Regions from separate parts of the Homo sapiens genome. Here all the other regions are linked to region 1. The links are contacts of gene promoters, found by promoter capture Hi-C in blood cells and fetal thymus (Javierre and others, 2016). All regions are on one chromosome and are shown on one strand. Each heading gives the region's core, a stretch centred on a gene start or on the middle of the fragment in contact. The rest is flanking DNA. Distances are from core to core; before and after follow the strand shown. Region 1 holds the start of WNT11 (Wnt family member 11). Region 2 overlaps LOC105369392 (a long non-coding RNA gene). Region 3 has its middle 6.2 kb from the start of LRRC32. Region 4 overlaps UVRAG (UV radiation resistance associated). Region 5 overlaps EMSY (EMSY transcriptional repressor, BRCA2 interacting). Region 6 overlaps UVRAG (UV radiation resistance associated). Region 7 overlaps EMSY (EMSY transcriptional repressor, BRCA2 interacting).

The links. The method cuts DNA at HindIII sites, captures the fragments that hold promoters and counts their contacts. A CHiCAGO score of 5 or more calls a contact.
Region 2: a fragment that was not itself captured here is called in contact with the fragment with the promoter of WNT11 in region 1 in 1 of 17 cell types (endothelial precursors); the score reaches 5.2 in endothelial precursors.
Region 3: a fragment that was not itself captured here is called in contact with the fragment with the promoter of WNT11 in region 1 in 1 of 17 cell types (fetal thymus); the score reaches 6.6 in fetal thymus.
Region 4: a contact is called between a fragment that was not itself captured here and the fragment with the promoter of WNT11 in region 1, in 1 of 17 cell types (megakaryocytes). The highest score is 7.1, in megakaryocytes.
Region 5: a fragment that was not itself captured here is called in contact with the fragment with the promoter of WNT11 in region 1 in 1 of 17 cell types (megakaryocytes); the score reaches 5.4 in megakaryocytes.
Region 6: a fragment that was not itself captured here is called in contact with the fragment with the promoter of WNT11 in region 1 in 1 of 17 cell types (megakaryocytes); the score reaches 6.1 in megakaryocytes.
Region 7: a contact is called between a fragment that was not itself captured here and the fragment with the promoter of WNT11 in region 1, in 2 of 17 cell types (megakaryocytes and M2 macrophages). The highest score is 7.5, in megakaryocytes.

The regions. Positions count from the first base shown.
Region 1 is chr11:76,205,175-76,207,851 of GRCh38, forward strand. It overlaps WNT11 (Wnt family member 11), which reads right to left and starts at 1,328. Exons shown (of 5, transcript NM_004626.3): 1 at 1,151-1,328. The coding sequence starts at 1,233. RefSeq lists silencers at 1,241-1,480, 2,461-2,677 and an enhancer at 1,785-2,452. The HindIII fragment of the contact is 7,460 bases long and covers 296-2,677 here.
Region 2 is chr11:75,712,210-75,714,886 of GRCh38, forward strand. All of the region lies in intron 1 of LOC105369392 (a long non-coding RNA gene), which reads right to left. Among named protein-coding and RNA genes, the nearest start is that of MOGAT2, 4.3 kb to the right of the region's middle. The HindIII fragment of the contact is 1,414 bases long and covers 611-2,024 here.
Region 3 is chr11:76,675,646-76,678,322 of GRCh38, forward strand. No RefSeq gene overlaps it. Among named protein-coding and RNA genes, the nearest start is that of LRRC32, 6.2 kb to the left of the region's middle. The HindIII fragment of the contact is 1,289 bases long and covers 731-2,019 here.
Region 4 is chr11:75,886,997-75,889,673 of GRCh38, forward strand. UVRAG (UV radiation resistance associated) reads left to right here. Exons shown (of 15, transcript NM_003369.4): 5 at 1,833-1,907. Among named protein-coding and RNA genes, the nearest start is that of UVRAG, 73 kb to the left of the region's middle. RefSeq lists an enhancer at 1-45. The HindIII fragment of the contact is 5,797 bases long and covers 1-2,677 here.
Region 5 is chr11:76,524,552-76,527,228 of GRCh38, forward strand. EMSY (EMSY transcriptional repressor, BRCA2 interacting) reads left to right here. Exons shown (of 22, transcript NM_001300942.2): 14 at 1,911-2,084. Among named protein-coding and RNA genes, the nearest start is that of EMSY, 81 kb to the left of the region's middle. The HindIII fragment of the contact is 2,918 bases long and covers 1-2,677 here.
Region 6 is chr11:75,903,874-75,906,550 of GRCh38, forward strand. All of the region lies in intron 5 of UVRAG (UV radiation resistance associated), which reads left to right. Among named protein-coding and RNA genes, the nearest start is that of UVRAG, 90 kb to the left of the region's middle. The HindIII fragment of the contact is 6,083 bases long and covers 1-2,677 here.
Region 7 is chr11:76,507,854-76,510,530 of GRCh38, forward strand. All of the region lies in intron 10 of EMSY (EMSY transcriptional repressor, BRCA2 interacting), which reads left to right. Among named protein-coding and RNA genes, the nearest start is that of EMSY, 64 kb to the left of the region's middle. The HindIII fragment of the contact is 1,204 bases long and covers 730-1,933 here.

The sequences.
Region 1 (2,677 bases), core at 78-2,577:
CTTGGCCTGAGAAGGGGCAGGGCCAGTGACCTCCAGACTGTTTGCTGGCGGCGCAGCCACTATCACCCTGTCTTCCAACTAATTCACAAACCCTTTGCAGCGCCCTCCCCAGCCCCCACAACCTGCCCCCTGCTGTCTTATCTGCAGGCTCCCTGCCCTGGCCCCAGATTCCAGACCCTTGTCCTGTCCTGGACTTTCCCTCTCAGGGAGCCCCTCTGCCCACAGCGTCCTCTCCATTGCCCGAACCAGCCAACTCCCAGCAGCGCTTCAGTCACCAGAGGCACAGCCTCGGAAAAGCTTCCCGGTGTCTCACATCTGTGTCCCCACCAGGTGGGCTTCCTTCCTCTAGGCCTCCAGATTCCCGCTCTGGTTTCTCCTCGGGCACTTGGACACTTGTGGAGTTATTTACAGCCTGGGCTTATCTCTCTCAACTTAGAGCGCAGCTCCTCCGGGAAGGGGCTGGTGTTTACTCCTCTCTTCACCACCCCCAGCCCCCTGAGCAGGCACTCCCTTCAGCTCGGCACCAAGCCTCTCTCTCCCTCCTACCCCTGCGTGAATAATTTCTATCTAAAGGAATGCCCTGCACATGTGCACAGTGGCATCTGACAGCTTCTGAGGTCCTTTCAGGAGCCTCTTCTCATCTGATTTGAGGGAGGTGGGGAGTCTCACCCTCCCGTGACAGAGGAGGACAAGGAGGCCCCAAGAAGTAGAGTGACACTTTCCCAAGGTCGCCCAGGTGGAGGGGTCAGGAGTGTCTCAGCGGAACTCCCGCTAGGGTCAAGGAGACTGACGGACAAGGACCGCTCCTGGGCTGGCCGCTCTGGATTGCGCCCCCTGAACAGAATGTCTTTTTCCATCTGCCCCTGCGGAGGTGGCCAGAAACTCCGTGGCCCTTGCGCCACCGTCAGCTGCACAGGACCAGGCGCTTCCATTGTGGTCCACGCCCGTCTCACTCCCTTTTCGCAAGCCTGCGGGAGGCAGGGACATTTTACAGAGGAGGAAACAGAGGCTGAGGGATGACTTGCCCACGACCGCCAAGCCAGCTTAGGCTCCCGGGTCTTGGTGCGCTCGCCCCATCCAGGGGACCCCAAAACGCCCTCCGCCGCCCCAGTCCCTGGCCTGTGCGCGTGGACGCGGGGTCCCTACTCACAGCCACTTGATGCCATAGCACACGCCGGTCTGGAGCGCCAGGGCGAAGAGCAGCGCCTCGCAGACCTGCGGCCGCGCCCTCATCGTCGCGCGGCGGGCGCGCCCGGGGTCACACCCAGGAGGAGCCGCGCCGAAGTCCTCCGCCTGCACGGCCGCCGCTGGTCCTGCACGCCGCCTGCAGCCGGGGAGAGCGGAGGCGGCGGGTTAAGGCGGCGCGCGGGCGGGGGAGGCGTTTTATTCAAATTACAAAGGAGGGGTCGGGGCCCGGGGAGGCCGAGCGCGGCGGGCGTCCCCTCCCGCTCCGCCCGGCCGGGGGACGCGTCCCGCGCCTGGCTCGAATTAGGCGCGGCCGAAGGCGTGTCTCCCAGCGTGGCCCCGGGCCCCAACGCGCCTTCGAGCCCCTCTGGCCGGGGCAGCCGGAAGGAGGGACAGGAGGCGGCAGAACCGGAGACCCAGGAGAGACCGGGCAGACACAGCGAGAGGGAGAAGGACGCTCAGAGGACAAGGCTGAGAGCCACGGAGACAGAGGGGGAAACCCGGACAGACGCAACCTGGGACGGAAAGGAGAGGAATGAGGAATCAGGAGTCCAGGCGAGGCAGCAGAGTCGAGGACCCGGAGCTGGGGCTTATCCCTGCAATATTGAGCATTAGTTAATAGGGCCTCGGCAATTCTCCTTCCCAAACGTGTTTCAGTTTACCTCCTCAGTAAGCTGGGGCAATTCGGGCACAATTCCGCTTTTATAAAGAACGTTCCCTGGCCGGGCAGGGTGGCTCACGCCTGTAATCCCAGCACTTTGGGAGGTCGAGGCGGGCGGGTCACCTGAGGTCAGGAGCTCGAGACCAGCCTGCCCAACATGGCAAAACCCCGTCTCTACTACGAATACAAAAAATTAGCCGGGCGTGGTGGCGGGCGCCTGTAATCCCAGCTACTCGGGAGGCTGAGGCAGGAGAACCGCTTGAACCCGGGAGGCGGAGGTTGCAGCGAGCGGAGATTGCGCCACTGCACTCTAGCCTGGGCGACAAGAGCGAAACTCCGTCTCAAACAAACAGACAAACAAAAAAAGTTCCCTAACACGATCGCATCTGCTCCTCCCAGCACCCCGTGAGATAGGCACTATCGCTGCCTCATCTCACAGATGAGGAAACTGAGGCACAGAGGTGGGGTTCAGCTAGGGAGCGGCAAGCCGGGTGTCCGGCGAAATCAGGAAATGGGGCTTGCTCGGGGCCCTGCTTTCTCGGTGTGGGAAGGGGAGGATGGGAAACGGGATGGTAGGGCTCTTTGTACAGTGAGGATTCCGAGTCTCCAAGTCCGTCTTTAGCCGCTCCACTTTGGAGGGTGGGAGTGGAAGCATGCGGGCTGGGACTGGGCAGCCCCGCCTTAGCGAAGCGGGGAAGCTCGCGGGGCTGGCGCGGTGTTGCCTCTGGCCTCCAGGCGGCGCCCTCGGGCCGCGGAGGAGAGGCTGCCCCGCCCGCCCGCAGCCCGCGGAGCAGCTATCTCCGCTTTTTTTCTCCTTCACTTCATTCTCAC
Region 2 (2,677 bases), core at 68-2,567, 490 kb before region 1:
GACAGGACCCAAGAAAAAACACACTTGGTCAAACTTCAGGAAGTCATCCTAGCCCTGGCTGTCCTGGCTAACAAATGGTCTCATCTTCACATTCATTATTAATTATTGGGCCATTACCTAAAAATTGTTCCCATCAAGGTAAAAAGCAAATAAACCCCGGGAATCTCTTATTTCACAGACATCAAATTATAAATCAAAATCACATAACTCCATGTTGCAAGGCCTTGCTAGTTCACTGCTTGTTTCTTTCAGAGTTAGAGACATTACTAATAGCTATGAAGGCACACATTTCACTCCTTAGAATACACCACTATGCTGGGCTTCCAGAGGAGGCATCCAATATAAACTTCATGTCCCTGATAGGTCCCAATGGTTGCTCTAATGATGTCCTCAAACAACTTCTTTTCAAATTCCAATACAATAAATACACTAAAGATCTTGAGTTTACCCCAGGTCTTAACCTATTCTTTATAAATTTCAATCTCTCCCCCATCCCTCAAGGGTTAGGGGCCAGATTAAAGATGCATATACTCCTGGGACTCATAACCATAGATTGTTCCTTAGATCAGGCAGCTAGCTGCCCCTCTGATAGGGGACCCATTTGAACCCAAGCTTCCACGCAAAACAAACCCTGTCAGGTGCAGCCGCACACTGTCCTGTTGTTGGTTGGTCTTATCACTACTGCCTTGCCTGCTTCACTGGTTACAATCAGAGGCCCAAAACCTTCAGCAGACCACCGTTTTAACCTCAGCAATTATGACAAGTGCTGAGGCCCACGTTAACTCGAGTAGGTCCCCATGAAAAGGACACACCTGTCCCACATCTCAGATGACATTACCTTTGCCTTATAATTCACCTCTGAAGGTGACATTGCCTCAGATGACACATCTGAACCCAAGACCTTGATGTTGGAGATAGCTTTGCCCCTGGTGCCACAGACGGCTTCACTTCTTACACTAAACCTCTACTCCAGTGATGCCCATGGACTGGCTCTGCTAACACACAAATGGACAGTGTGTAGTTTTGCTTTTCTTTCTGTACTGACTGCCTGCTTAGCTCCTGATCTTGGTATACTCCTTGCTCTCTGCTCAAAGGTACACTGCCACACAGCTCTATACCTCAACAAAACTCTAGCCTGGTGAAAGCCAATCTAGAAGCAATGGCACAACAGATAACAAGTATTTTATAACCTTACCCGGGTTCACAACAACCTTCCTACTTTGCCCTAGGTGAAGGGTTGCTCTATTCACTTGGCTCAACCCCACACAGTGGAGTGGATGCCTGTGAGTGGAGTTTAAGGTCACAGTGGTGCCTCCACATTGTTTGTGTGTTCAGTGATGCTCATCAAATGCCTTGCTCCATGCCTGGCCCACATTTCTCCAGTAGCCTTCAATGTCTCCACTATTTAAGCAGTAGTCGTCACCAAACACAAGGTCATATGCCCAGGCATCACAGGGTCAGTTGTAACAGGAACACACAGAAAAGGTTGCTGTCTAGTCATAGAAATAGACTGGCACACCCAAATGTCTCAAACGGGGGGCCAGAGTTCAGAACTTAGAGGCATCTCTCCAGCCCAGCCCAATGGGCTTTCTGCTTTGCCACTGATTCCTTTAAAGGGACAATTCAGGTATTTGCCTGCAAACTTTAAGTGACTTACACCCCATTCCCTTATATCTACCACTAGTTGTGGGGTTTCTCTCTCTCTCTCTCTGCCTGACTTTGCATTCATGACCCCAGGATGGAGCACTGCCTTCGTGACTCACGGCACCCTCCCTGTCCAGGATTCATAAGTAATAAGTTAGTGAACATATTTTTTATTGTGGGGTGTATTAAATTTGCACCCTCTATCTGAAGAACCAGAGACTACCCCGATGGCTCCCAGAGTCCAAGTAATGGTCAGGCAGACATAAATTGGACACAGATCTGATAAGAACCATCAGGGCATCTGCCAATGTATTTTCCTTTTCTTTTTAACTTTTTTTACACAACCTTTTCTGAATCCAGAGCATCTGCCACTATAAACAAGCTTCCTGTGTGAGGGACTCCCTGGTTGTGGGTCGGACAACTAGGCATTAGGCTGTCCCCCAGGTAAAGGGAGTATCCTATGGAAAACATACTGTAAAACCCCACCCCGCTCAGGCAGTGTTGCTAGCTGCTCCGGTACCGGAACTCTAATTTAGCTGAGGGCTCTTAAAAACAGTGTGGTGCTGGCAGAGATAGATAAGAGGACAAACAGGAGAGAATAAAAGCCCATACACGGACCACGCATCCGTAGAACTGTCTCACATGACAGAGGTGGCATAACATATCGTGGGGAACGGAGGGAGTGTTCAACAAAGAGACTGAAAAAAAATGCTTATCCACATGTCAAAAGCTCAGATTGGAACCTAACTCATACTATCTAAACATCCAGATGAATTAGGACTTACATATAAAAAACAAAACTTCAAAATTTTTAATGAAATGTATAAGTAAGACAAGATTTCCTAGATCCAACCAAACAATGTGTATTTTATAAAAGACTGGAAAATATGACATATTGAAAAAATGTTTGTTCATCAAAGGACATCTTAAAAGACAAGCTAGGGCTGGGCGCGGTGGTTCACGCCTGTTATCCCAGCACTTTGGGAGGCTGAGGAGGGTGAATCACTTGAAGTCAGGAGATCAAGACCAGCCT
Region 3 (2,677 bases), core at 125-2,624, 470 kb after region 1:
AAATGTAAAGGTTATGGTTAACAGGATTATTAATCTTTCTTACTGTGAGTAATTTCAAGTCGGGAAGGGTATAGGCTGGGCCAGGCAGCTTTCTAATGCAGCTGTCATATTGCAAGCCATTCAATCCTTAACTACACCCAAGAAGGTAGATATTATTATTATTATTATTATTATTAGCAGCAGCTCCATTTTGCAGATGACACATGAGGAAATGCAGCAAGGATGAGTAATTAACTTAAGCTTGCACAGCCAGTACAGGTGAGTCCAGGCAGTGGGGCTCCAGCGCCTACCCACTGAATACTCGATCATTTCGTCACTTGAAGGAGCATTAATGAGCCCAAAGAGCAAATTATCTAAACATTCTGTGTGTAGTTGTGTTCCCCCTCCCATCTTAGGTGGGGTGAGGAGGGGACTGAGAAGGGCAGAACGGAGGAAGAGAAGCAACCTGGGTTTAGGAGAGAGACCCACCCGCATTCCCATCCTCGCTGCGCCACTCACTGCTGTGTAACTTTGGGCTGGTGGCCTCACCTCTGAACCCAGTAGAGTGAGGGCAGCCATGGACAATGGACCACTAGGGCAGTTTGAAGGGTGAGTGCGTTTGTATTAAGCTGTTCCTCACCAGTCAATGGCACAGCTTGCGGTGCTCCCTGCCCCGGTCAGCATTTGAGGGTTTTGGCAGCAGCTATGGTCTTTGTGCTGGTTTGTTTCAGGGAGAGAGAAGTGGTTTTCAAGCTTTCCCTGGCTGTGGTCAGGGGATGTAGGGAGGAAACCTGCCTAGAATGTAGCTGTGGCTGCCCCTCAGGGACAGTATGGGTAGGCAGCATGAGGGTACAGCGTTCCTCAGGGGGGCAGGTGGAAGCCCTCAAGGGGCAAGTGAGGGGGCGAAGGCCTGGGCACACCCAGTTGTCACTGGGACAGGGTCTTCTTAGGCACAGGTCACAGAGCCCCCATCTTGTCCTAGTCATGTTGCCAGCTTCCTCATGACCATAGGATCTTCCTAGAGTCCTTCAAGTATTATCCATTGAGGGGAAGCTGAGGCTCTACAGGGGCAAGGAGGAGGCAAGAGGGGGCTGCCCTCTCTGCTACATTGGATTTTCACCCCCTTCCCCTATGACATTTTTCCACCTGCTGATGAGAGCCACATGCACTCGCCCCACAGACATAGTGCACCTGCAACAACAGCCCAGCCACAGCCACACACACATCCTTCATATGCACCCTCAGAGGCAACATGAGATGCACAGGGCCACGACTCACGAAAGCAACAAGCATGCATCGACCTCATACACGAATTTCACGTAGGCACACACACGATTCACAAACATTCAGACATTTCAGAGACGCCCTCAAAAGTCACACAGTCACCACACATGGTTACATACATCCTGCACAAATCCAACTCTCAATTAAACACATGTGCAAAACACAACACAAACATGTACATTGAGCATACACCGTGTACACACACTATATCCATACATCCTACACGAACACCACACTCACAAACATACCAGACACATTGCACACAAACACAGCTCACATCCAGTATGTACAATAAAGACTTAAAATACCAAGGCTCCCCAAACCCAGTGCACACACAGCAGAGAGCACAGATAAGCCTCTCGTCTGTGTGCATGGACGTGCACACACGCACACACGTGAGCATGCCTGTACACACAGGCACAGGTGCACATGGTCATGGGAACTAGGCTGTCATCTCGCGTGGCTTGTGACTCTGATTTTTCTCAGAAGCAGACCACACATAAGTCAAGTGGCTTCCACTAGGGCTGGTTTCCTGAAGTGAAAAAGGAAAGGAGGGGAAAGGACATAGTTTGGGCTAAATTAGTCAGACAGACTCCTTTGGCCTCCCAGGAATCTCATAATTAATCCAGCTGGGATGCTGTGAGCTTCAGGCCCTGGGAGCTGGGCTGGGGCTTCAGAATGCAGAGTACTGCATCCTGTCTCCTGAGGGATGGATGCCAGGCCTTGTCCCCAAGCCAATCCCTCTGAAGGTCTGGAAGCTTAAAAAGGGGTTATGTGGCCTCAGGGCTGCCACTCCCTGACCTCTTCTAGGCTGTGTGACTTCAGCCTGCTTGCTGGTTTTTCTCTCCTGTGGTGCTGGGGTCAGGAGACCCGGATTTGAGGCCTGAACCTGACTCCCAAAACCAAACTTGCCTCTGCTGGCATCAGTGACCACCTGGCCTCCTGGTGGATGGGCTGTGCTTCCTGCTGGCAGAGGCAGCACCTGCCTCCTGGGGAACATTCTGGGCAAGCCCTCTTGTACACGCCCCTGTTTCACAAGCCCCTTCTGGGTCTTCCAGGTTCCCTTCAGCTGTGGCCCCCTCCTCTCATCTCCTCCTAGCCAGACCCACAAGGGAGCTACCTGCAAGAAAGCCACTCTTGCTGCCTCCATTGCCTCCACTCTCCACCTGTCTCCAGCCCCTCATTCCAGCAAGCACATCCATGGCAGAACTGCTGTGGCCGGACCGAGGGACAGTGTCCACGTCCCTTGGCTATGTTCTTCACAGCTTCCCCTCCTCCTTTAATGGCCTTCTTCCCGTGGCACCTTGGAACACCCCCTCCTGGCCCTCCTCTCTCCTCTCTTGCATCTCCTTCAGGATCCTGCTGCGGGCCCTTCTCTTCCTCCTCCACCTGATTTCTAAAGGTGGAAGCTCCC
Region 4 (2,677 bases), core at 61-2,560, 320 kb before region 1:
GCTCTGTCGCCCAGGCTGGAGTGCAGTGGCGTGATCTCGGCTCACTGCAAGCTCCGCCTCCCGGGTTCAAACAATTCTCCTGCCTCACTCAGCCTCCCTAGTAGCTGGAATTACAGATGTGCACTGCCACGCCCAGCTAATTTCTTTTTCTTTCTTTCTTTTTTTTTGAGACAAGGTCTTGCTTGGTCGCCCAGGCTGGAGTGCAGCGGCGTGCTCTCGGCTCACTGCAACTTCCGCCTCCCGGGTACAAGCGATTCTCCTGCCTCAGCCTCCCGAGTAGCTGGGATTACAGGCGCCCGCCACCATGCCCGGCTAAATTTTGTGTTTTTAGTAGGCACGGGGTTTCACCATGTTGGCCAGGCTGGTCACAAACTGCTGACCTCAAGTGATCCGCCGCCTTGGCCTCCCGAAGTGCTGGGATTACAGGCTTGAACCAGCGTGCCTGGCGCAGGTTTTTTTTTTTTTTTTTGAGACGGAGTCTCGCTCTGTCTCCCAGGCTGGAGTGCAGTGGCACAATCTCGGCTCTCTGCAAGCTCTGCCTCCCGGGTTCATGCCATTCTCCTGCCTCAGCCTCCCGAGTAGCTGGGACTGCAGGCGCCCGCTACCACGCCCAGCTAATTTTTTGTATTTTTAGTAGAGACGGGGTTTCACCGTGTTACCCAGGATGGTCTCGATCTCCTGACCTCGTGATCCACCCGCCTTGGCCTCCCAAAGTGCTGGGATTATAGGCATGAGCCACTGCGCCGGGCCCCAAGTTTTGTATTTTTAGTAGAGACGGGGTTTCGCCATGTTGGCCAGGCTGGTCTCGAATTTCTCACCTCAAGTGATCCGCCCGCTTCGGCCTCCCAAAGTGCTGGGATTACAGGCTACCGGTGTCTGGCCTCAGTTCCTTAATTTTTAAAGTTTTATTCTTCCACCTTTTAAATGAAGTTTAATTTGGGATGCAATGACTGCAGCTCACCTCATCTGAAATAGAGTGGTTTGCAGACAATAATAGAAGAGAGTGGTTTGCAGACAGTAATAAAAGAGAGTGGTTTGCAGACATTTAAGACTTTAGGGATTGGATACTATTGCTTTTTTAAAAATTGCCTTTTTGAAAATAGAATATATTAATCTTTTATGTTTTTCTAGGGCTTCATTTTTTTTCTTATTTTTAAGACGAGGTTGTGCTCCCTCACCCATGCTGGAGTGCAGTGGTGTGATCATGGCTCACTGAAGCCTTGACCACTCAGGCTCCGGCAGTCCTCCCACCACAGCCTCCCGAGTAGCTGGGACCACAGGCGTGCACCATCATGCCCGGCTAATATTTTTTATTGTTATTGTTATTTGTAGAGAAGAGGTCTTGCTATGTTGCCCAGGCTGGTCTTGAACTCCTGAGCTTAAGCTATCTGCCCATCTCTGCCTCCCAAAGTGCTGGGAATATAGGCGTGAGCTACTGTGCCAGGCCTAGGCTTCATGTTAAAAAAAAATACTTTTAGAATTAATAAATTGTGTTTTCTTTGGGGTTAGAGAGGGTAGAATATGCCTCTGAATACCCTATTGTTCAGGAATAGCCATTCCATAACAACCTCAAGAAATGTTTGTGAAAGATATGTGAGTGATGGTGCCTGTGATTGCATGTGATAGTTTTGCAAGGCCTTTGACTAAAGCAGGAAATGCTGAATTGATCACCTGGTCTTTTGAATAGTGATTGGTTTTCTGCTAGTATGTTTAGATGTAGTCAGCCGGTTTCTCAGTATTGAAGTAGATCCTGTTGTAACTGTCATTCTCTGGTTGTATTAAAACATGATCGGAATAAAAATAACAAATACTGTATTTTCCTCCTCTCTTAGATTCATGCCCGAAACCAAAATGAAATAATTTTTGGGCTGAATGATGGATACTATGGTGCTCCATTTGAACATAAGGTAAGAAGATCCTTCTAATGTTATGAATTTTGTTTAGTGCAGGTGTGCCTTGCAGGTGTACAGGGTAGATATAATCCTGAAAACTCTGTGTAAATAGAATCATGCTTTAAATTTGTTGCTTAGTGTGGCTTAAGGTGGATGCTTTTTAATGGGAAAACTCATTCTGTAAGGCACATAACCATCCAGTCCATCTTTTCTAAATCCAGATTATATTAATTTTTCTACAGGAAATCTGGAGCTAGCTGTTTTCTCTTATTCTACATAACTCTTTGGGGGTTAAGAAAGGATGGTGAATTTTGATTAAATGCAATACAGTTTTATGAAATGTTTCAGATATCTTTTATAACTTTCAATACATTTAAGAAACTATGAATCGGTTGTTTTATAGTCAGCATTATCTCTACATCTAAAAGTTATTAGAGAAAGGAAAGGGAAGCGAATTCACATTTACCAAGTACCTACTATCTATGGTACTGTGCCAGGTGATTCTTGTCCTTTTCCTCACTTAATACTAGCCAAAACCAATGTGGTTTGTTTTGTCCTCTCCATTTTATAGTTAAGGAAAAAAGTTGTTTGAGATGAGCTTCGTAGGTTCACCCATCTAGAAAGTAGCTGAGCTGAAATTTCAGGTTGCCTGCCTCTAAAGCCTGTGCTTTTTCTATTCTACTATGGTGTTCTACCCAACAACCCTGTGCATTATTTGCTCTTAGTGATCATGTTGCTTCATAGCTCTTGGTTGTCTGAAATGCTGTTGCTTAGAGTACTTCATT
Region 5 (2,677 bases), core at 87-2,586, 320 kb after region 1:
CCTTTGTAATATGGTTTGCAATTTCAAAGAACTTGATATGTAAGAGGGGATGCTTTGTATTCTAGGCCCTGTGGTCACAAAGATCCAAGAGTCATGTATGATTCATAGCTGTTAGATATCTCTGATAACAACCGTTTGACACAGGCAGCTCTAGTAAAACAAGCAAATCAACGTATAAGACCGTTTTCTGGGCTGGGTGTGGAGGCTTATGCCTGTAATCCCAGCAATTTGGGAAGGCAAGGCAGGTGGATCACTTGAGCCCAAGAGTTTGAGACCAGCCTGAGCAACATGGTGAAACTCCGTATCTACAAAATTACAAAAATTAGCGTGAAGGTGTGCACCTATAGTCCCAGCTACTTGGGAGGCTGAGGTGGAGGATCACTTGAGCCTGGGAGGCAGAGGTTGCAGTGAGCTGAGATCTTGCCACTGTACTCCAGCCTGGGTGACAGAGCAAGACTCTGCCACTGCCACCCCCGCCAAAGACCACATAGGCACAATCACCTCTACTCACCACTTGCTCACCTATGCATGCCCACAACACACATCAGAAGAGCTTTTTTGAAAAACAGGCTGCTAGTTGGTTTTGTTTGGCTTGAATGGGTCATACTTGGCCAGGGTCCATTGAGCTATTTAATAGATAGGTGTGGTCACTTGCAAACTAGTGGCTCTTGGCAAATGAACTAGAGCTCTTTCCAGAGATGGTGCTGGGAAGAGTATGCATGTGTTGAAATAAGTAATAACACCATTGGCAGATGCTTCATGTTTCCCTTAAGTAATTACAGCAGATAGTTAAAATTGTGATTTTTGTAATTATATTTAGCTCTGAATTCACAATGATTGCTTTTTAGCCAGCTCACGTGGGTGCTTTGTTTTTACTGGCTGCTAAGTTTAGATAGGCACACGTTTAGATGATGCTGGCTAAAAATTAAGAAAAACTGATGAGGTGAAAATTCTCAAATCTTTTCATTTCCATCTTAAGTTTATGGATTTTAATTTTAAAAATTTTAATAATTTAGTAAAGTCACTGTATTTGAACTTAATTTAGTTAAGTTCATGTAAAAAGATGTTGATTTCATGAGTGACCAGAAAATGGTACTTAAGAATAAAGTAGATGAAAGTATAGAAAATGATGAAAAGTTAATGGATATAAGCTATCTAGTTAATAGACTAAAAGGATATTAGTAATATATGAATAGTAAAACATAGGAAGCACTCTGAGTTTTCCCTTCCTTTTTTTCTATATGTAACCTTATATATTATTAACAATATATAACATTCTTTCCTCATGGCATATGTTCATCAAATTTTTCCTATATATAACCTTAGAAAGAATGTTAATACCTCTGCTGATTTTGCTTGCCCATACTTTTTCATGTAGACATTCTACTATATATCCTTATAATTTCATATATGTAGAACTTAGGGGATGTATTTTATGTGTGTGCATTTAGCTACTGGTATATTGCACAGTAATTTTCTAATTACACAAATACTTATTTCAGATAAATTAGAAAATAAATATGTATGTGGGGGTTAAGACTTATAATCCCAATTCTTAGAGACAAGCATTAGCAGTGTACTATACCTTCTTCCAGAATTTTCTGACTATTATAATATATGTATTCCATTAATGGGATAGTGTAATAAGTATTTTTGCATGTGGTAATTTTTTAAAATTCGCTCATCAGAGAATAATTAATTCCTTCTTTGGGTAGAAAGTTGGTCAGATGACTTTCTATATCATTTCAACCAAGTCTACGATTTTTGATTTCCTGGAAACATTATACTTTGTTACATAATCTACAGCCCTTTTTTCATCATCCTGGTAAAACCTTACTGATTTTTCAGTGAGAGGACTTTATCATTTATATGCATATAAATCTCTTATATAATCATTGACTTCAATTTAGGGAGAAAAGACTATTCAGACAGTGCCAACAGGAGCAAAGCCAGCTATCCTTACTGCTACAAGACCCATCACCAAAATGATTGTAACGCAGCCAAAAGGAATAGGTTCTACAGTTCAACCAGCAGCTAAAATCATCCCAACAAAAATTGTTTATGGGCAGCAAGGGAAAACGCAGGTATGCTATAAGATATGATGATTTTTCTTGGCTCTTAAATATTTTCAATTCTTATAATTCCCGGGTAGAAATTTGAAGGAAAAGATCAGCAATCTTTAAGAAATCAGATTGTTAAAAGTTATGTTTGAATGTGTTAATTATTCAAGTATTGTCAAAACTTCATTTATCTTTTCAGTACTTTCTTAAAGATACCTAAATGTGTATGTTGTGCTATCAGCAAAGATTATGGGGAAATAATTACCTAGGAATACAATTTGCTGAAGGTGTATTTTGTGATTTGAGGGGGGTGGTTGAGGGAGGATCATAGTCATTCAGAATCACTCAAAGAAAAATATTTACTTTTTATAAGCTACCATGGCCTTCAAAAGCATTTTATTTACTTATAAAATTAGCTTTGCTTGAACCCTTGAACAATAGATAAGCTAGAGTTGTATTTATTTTTTAACCAATAGAAGATAAGGGAACTTTTCTGAAAATTTGCCTTGGAATTTGAGGCTCAGGATCTAATCATATGTTGCTAGGCTACTGTTTATTTTGTAGGTATTTTGCTTTTCTGAGAATATCGAGGGAAGCACTATTAGTTTCGGTTGAGA
Region 6 (2,677 bases), core at 54-2,553, 300 kb before region 1:
CGTTATTTCTGTATACATTTTGTAGTTTTAATGAAGTTAAGGACAGTCTTGTGTTGTTGCAGCTAAAAACTCTCAAAATATATAGTAACATGTTTTAAAACGTGACTCATCCAATGAACTAGTACAGGGATAAGCAAACTGTAGTCCAGCACATATTTTTGTATAGCTTGCGACTAAGAATGATTTTACATTTTTAAAGAATTTTAAAGAAAAAATAAGACTATGTGACAGAAATGACATGTGGCCTGCAAAGCCTAAAACATTTACTATGTGGCCCTTTATGGAAAAAGTTTGCTGACCACTCATCTAGAAATACACCTGACTTGCCTGGAATTACTCCTGCTCATTGGATATGTTAAATTATCTATTTCCCTGAGCAGTTTAATAGGCACTCACCCAGACTTGTTACTATTCTGTTCCTTGAAGAATTGTTAGGCCTGACTTCAGAAGAATTTTGAGTGACATGTAAATCTCTTCTGGGCTCTTTGGCACTTGGCAGTATCTCACACAGATAACCAGATACAAATGAGCCGTTTCTTTCCATTATAATCCTTCATCAGAAGTCTGTTGGGATCGAACATCTGGTGAAGTTAGATGTCATTCAGAACAAGGCTCTTAGCATATTTCAAGAATGTTAATTGCTAAGTGATGGCTGAAACAGGAGGGCTTAATAATGTCCTTAAATTGCCTTAAATGTACATGGACTCAGAATTTTTAGAATTGGAAAAGGTCCTAGAGATCATCAAGTATAGCCTGGTTCTTAAGAACACGGGCTGTGGAGCCAGACTGCATGGCTCTTCTCTTTAATCCTCTTTGTGTCTCAGTTTCCACACCTTTAAAGTGGGGATATTAATAGCACCTGTTTCACAGGGGTTTGTGAGTATTAAATGTGTTAACATTTAACATATTAACAGCTAACGTTGACATGTAAAATACAATACTGCCTGCCACACTGTAAATGCATGTAAACATTACTTTTTATATTGCTGTTATTTTTTATTACTGTTTTTATTAGTAGTAGTTGCATCTCATTTTATAATTAAAGAAACTGAGGCCTAGGAGAGTTAAATTATTTTCCTTACTTATGCGATAGGCAGAGTAGATTAAAACCCAGGATTCTAGCTTTCAGTTGAATGTTCTTTCCCTGTTATAAAGTGTGGCTTTTAGTTGTATGTCGGTGGGTGTGGATAAATTTTTTATAGTAAGAAAAAATATTTGGCAGCTTTTTCCGTAAAATAAGAAAAGCTAAGTAGAACATCATTAATTATTTCTCCTGAGAATCTTAAATCTACTTCTCAAGTCTTCTATTATTTGGATTTTGTTGCTGATTTATAAGACTGTCTCCTCTGTCCTTTTTCTCCTCATCTCCTCTTAAAATGTATTGATTATTTCTTAGCATCCATTTTTTAAAATTGAAGTGAAATTAATGTAACATAAATTAACTGTTTTGAAGTGTGCAATTCAGTGGCTCTGGGTACATTCACAGTGTTGTGTACCACCATCTCTGTCAAGTTGCAAAACATTTTCATAATCCCCAAATTAAACTTTGTACCTATGAAGTGCTCACTTTCTATTTTGCTGTCCTCCAAACCCCTGGCAAACACCAGTTTGTTTTCCATCTCTATGGATTTACCTATTTTGGGTATTTCATACAAATTGAATTATGTAGTATGTGACCTTTTGTTCTGGCTTTTTTCACTTAGTGTAATGTTTTGGTGTTGCATCTACATGTAGGAAGGAATGTACTTCATTCCTTTTTAGGGCTGAGTAATATTCTATTGCATGTGTACACACACAGAGACACACACACACACATTTTGTTTATTCATGTCTGTTGATAGACATTTGTGTTGTTTCTCTTTTTTTGACTGTTGTGAATAGTGCTGCTGTGAACATTTGTGTACAACTGTTTGTTTGAGTCCCTGTTTTCAGTCTTTTGGGTATGTACCTAGGAGTGAAATTGCTGGGTCATATTATAATTCTATGATTACCTTTTTGAGGAACTGCTAAACTTTTTTTTTTTTACCGTGGCTGACCAATACATTCCTAATAGCAATATGTGAGGGTTCTCATTTCTCCACATCCTCACTATCTTCTGTTTGTTTGTTATGCTATTTGTATGTCTTTATTTGGAGAAATGTCTCTTGCAGTTCTTTGCCCATTTTAAAATTGAGTTGTCTTTTTGCTGTTGAATGTATGAGTTCTTTATATCATCTGGAAATTAGACCTCTGTCAGATATACAATTTGTAAATATTTTCTCCCATTCTGTTGGGTTCTTTTTCTACTTAATTGATAGTGTCCTTTGATGCACAAAAGTTTTTGATTTTAATGAAGTATAATTTACTGATTTTTTTGTACTAATGCTTTTTATATCATATCTAAGAATAGATTGGTAAATCCAAGGTTATATAAACCCCTGTGTTTTCTTCTAATAGTTCTATAGGTTTTTTTTAGCTTTATAGTGGGTTTTTTTGTTTGTTTGTTTGTTTGGAGATAGAGTCTCACTCTGTTGCCCAGGCTGGAGTGCAGTGGCGTGATCTCAGCTCACTTCAATCTCTGCCTCCTGGGTTCAAGTGATTCTCCTGCCTCCAGCCTCCCGAGTAGCTGGGATTACAAGCGCGTGCCATCATGCCTGGCTAATTTTTGTATTTTTAGGAGGTACCAGGTTTTACCATG
Region 7 (2,677 bases), core at 82-2,581, 300 kb after region 1:
TTTTTCTTTTTCTTTTTTTTTTTTTTCTTTTTTTTGAGACATAGTCTGTCAGCCAGGCTGGAATGCAGTGACACAATCATAGTTCACTGCAGCCTCAACCTCCTGGCTCAAGCAGTCCTCCCACCTCAGCCTCCCAAGTAGCTGAGACTACAGGCATGAGCCATAGCATGCCTGGCTAATTTTTTTAAAAAAATTTTTGTAGAGACAGGGTCTCACCATGTTGCCCAGACTGGTCTCAAACTCCTGGGCTCAAACAATCCACCTGCCACAGCCTCCCAAAGTGCTGGGACTGCAGGCATGAGCCACCACACCCAGCCTAAAATTTATTTCTTAATAAGACCTGAAAGTTGAAATTATTCCTTGTTTCATGGCCTGCACAACGGATGTTATGTTAGCAGGCATGAAAACAATATTAATCTTGTATATCTCCATCAGAGCTCTTGGGTGACTAGGTGCATTGTCAGTGGGTAGTAATATTTTGAAAGGAATCTTTTTTTTTTTTTATGAGCAGTAGGTCTCAATAGTGGGCTTAAAACCTTCAGTAAACCATGCTGTGAACAGATGTGGTGTCATCCAGGCTTTGTTGTTTCATTTATAGAGCACAGGCAGAGTAGATTTAGCATCCTTTTTAAGGACCCTAGCATTTTGCGAATGGTAAATGAACATCAGCTTCAACTTAAACTCAGCAACTGCATTAGTCCCTAACAAGAGAGTCAGTCTGTTCTTTGAAGCTTTGAAGCCAGGCATTGACTTCTTTATCTATGAAAGTCCTAGATGGCATCTTCTTCCAATAAAAGTCTATTTTGTCTACATTGAAAATCTGGTGTTTAGTGTAGCCACCTTCATCAATGATCTTAGGTAGATCTACTGGATAACTTGCTACAGCTTCTCCGTCAGCACTTGCTGTTTTGTTTTGCACTTTGACATTCTGTAGATGGTTTCTTTCCTTAAACCGCATGAACCAACCTCTGCTAGCTTCCAACTTTTCTTCTGCAGATTCCTCACTCTCCTGGCCTTCATAGAAATGAAGTTTATTAACTGGCCTAATTTCAGTATCATTGTGTCTTTGGAAACAAGCAGGCCCAAGGAGAGGGAGAGAGATGGGAGAATGTCCAGTTCGTGAAGCAGTCAGAGCACACACAACATTTATTGATTAAGTACATCATCTTACACGAGCATGGTTTGTGGTGGCCCAAAACAATTATAATAGTAACATCAAAGATCACTGATCACCGATTAAAGTAACAGATATAATAATAAAAAAAAACTTTGAATTATTGTGAGAATCATCAAAATGTGACACAGACATAATGTGAGCGCACACTGTTGGAAAAATGGTGCCTATAGACTTACTCGACGTGGGGTTGCCAGAACCTTCAATTTGTAAAAAACACTTTGGGAGGCCAAGGAGTGCAGATCACCGGAGGTCAGGAGTTCGAGACCAGCCTGGCCAACATGATGAAACCCTGTCTCTACTAAAAATACAAAAATAAACCAGGTGTGTTGGTGGGTGCCTATAATCCCGCTACTCGGGAGGCTGAGGCAGGGAGAATTGCTTGAACCCAGGAAGTGGAGGTTGCAGTGAACCAAGATTGCACCACTGCACTCCAGCCTGGGTAACAGAGCGAGACTCCGTCTCAAAAAAACAAAAAACAAAAACAAACAGACAAACAAAAAAACACACTAGTACTGAGAAGCACAATAAAGCAAAGTGTAATAAAACAAGGTATACCTGTATCACTGTAGAATGAAGAAGCAATTTAATTTTATGTACTGACTATATTAAAAAGATCTCTAAGATACATTGTTAAAGGTGGGGGGGAAAGCAAGGTGCATGTGTTATGTTTTACAAGTGTGTAAAGAGGGGAGGTATAAGAATCCATATTTAAATTTTCTTGTATTTGTGGAGACTCTGACAATATATAAGAAACTAAGCTTTTGTTAATGGCAAGGGAGAACTAGACAGAGGACAAGGAAAGAGGACAAGTTATTCACTCTAACTTTTTATACTGGTCAGTTTTTAATGAATGCTTTCTCTATTCAAAAAAATAAAATATAGACCAGGTGCAGTGGCTCATGCCTATAATCTCAGTGCTTTGGGATTCTGAGATGGGAGAATTGCTTTAGCTCAGGAGTTCAAGGTTACAGTCATCATGCCACCGCACTTCAGCCTGGGTGACAGAACAAGACGCTGTCTCTAATAAAAAAATTAATAAACTGGCTGTGTTTGGTGGCTCATGCCTGTAATCCCAGATCTTTGGGAGGCCAAGGCAGGGGGACTGCTTGAAGCCAGAGTTCAAGATCACCCTGGACTATAAAGCAAGACCCTATCTCTACAAAAATAGTAAAATTAGCTGAGTGTGGTGGCATATGCTTGTATTCCCAGCTACTCTGAAGGTTGGGGCAAGAGGATTGCTTGAGCCTAGAAGATCAAGGCAGTGAGCCATGATCACACCATTGCACTCTACCTTGGGTGACACAGCAAGACCTTGCCTAAAATTAATTAATATAGTATAATGTAATAATTGATTCACAAATAAAAATGCCATTGATACAGACCTTAGAAACTGGAACCTTGCAGAAATAGGAAGTATCTAGGGTGGGGTAAGTGACAGACTTCTCTGACAGACCCCTGCTTTACGCACTGAGTGCTCACAGAGTCGGGGTAAGGGGTTGG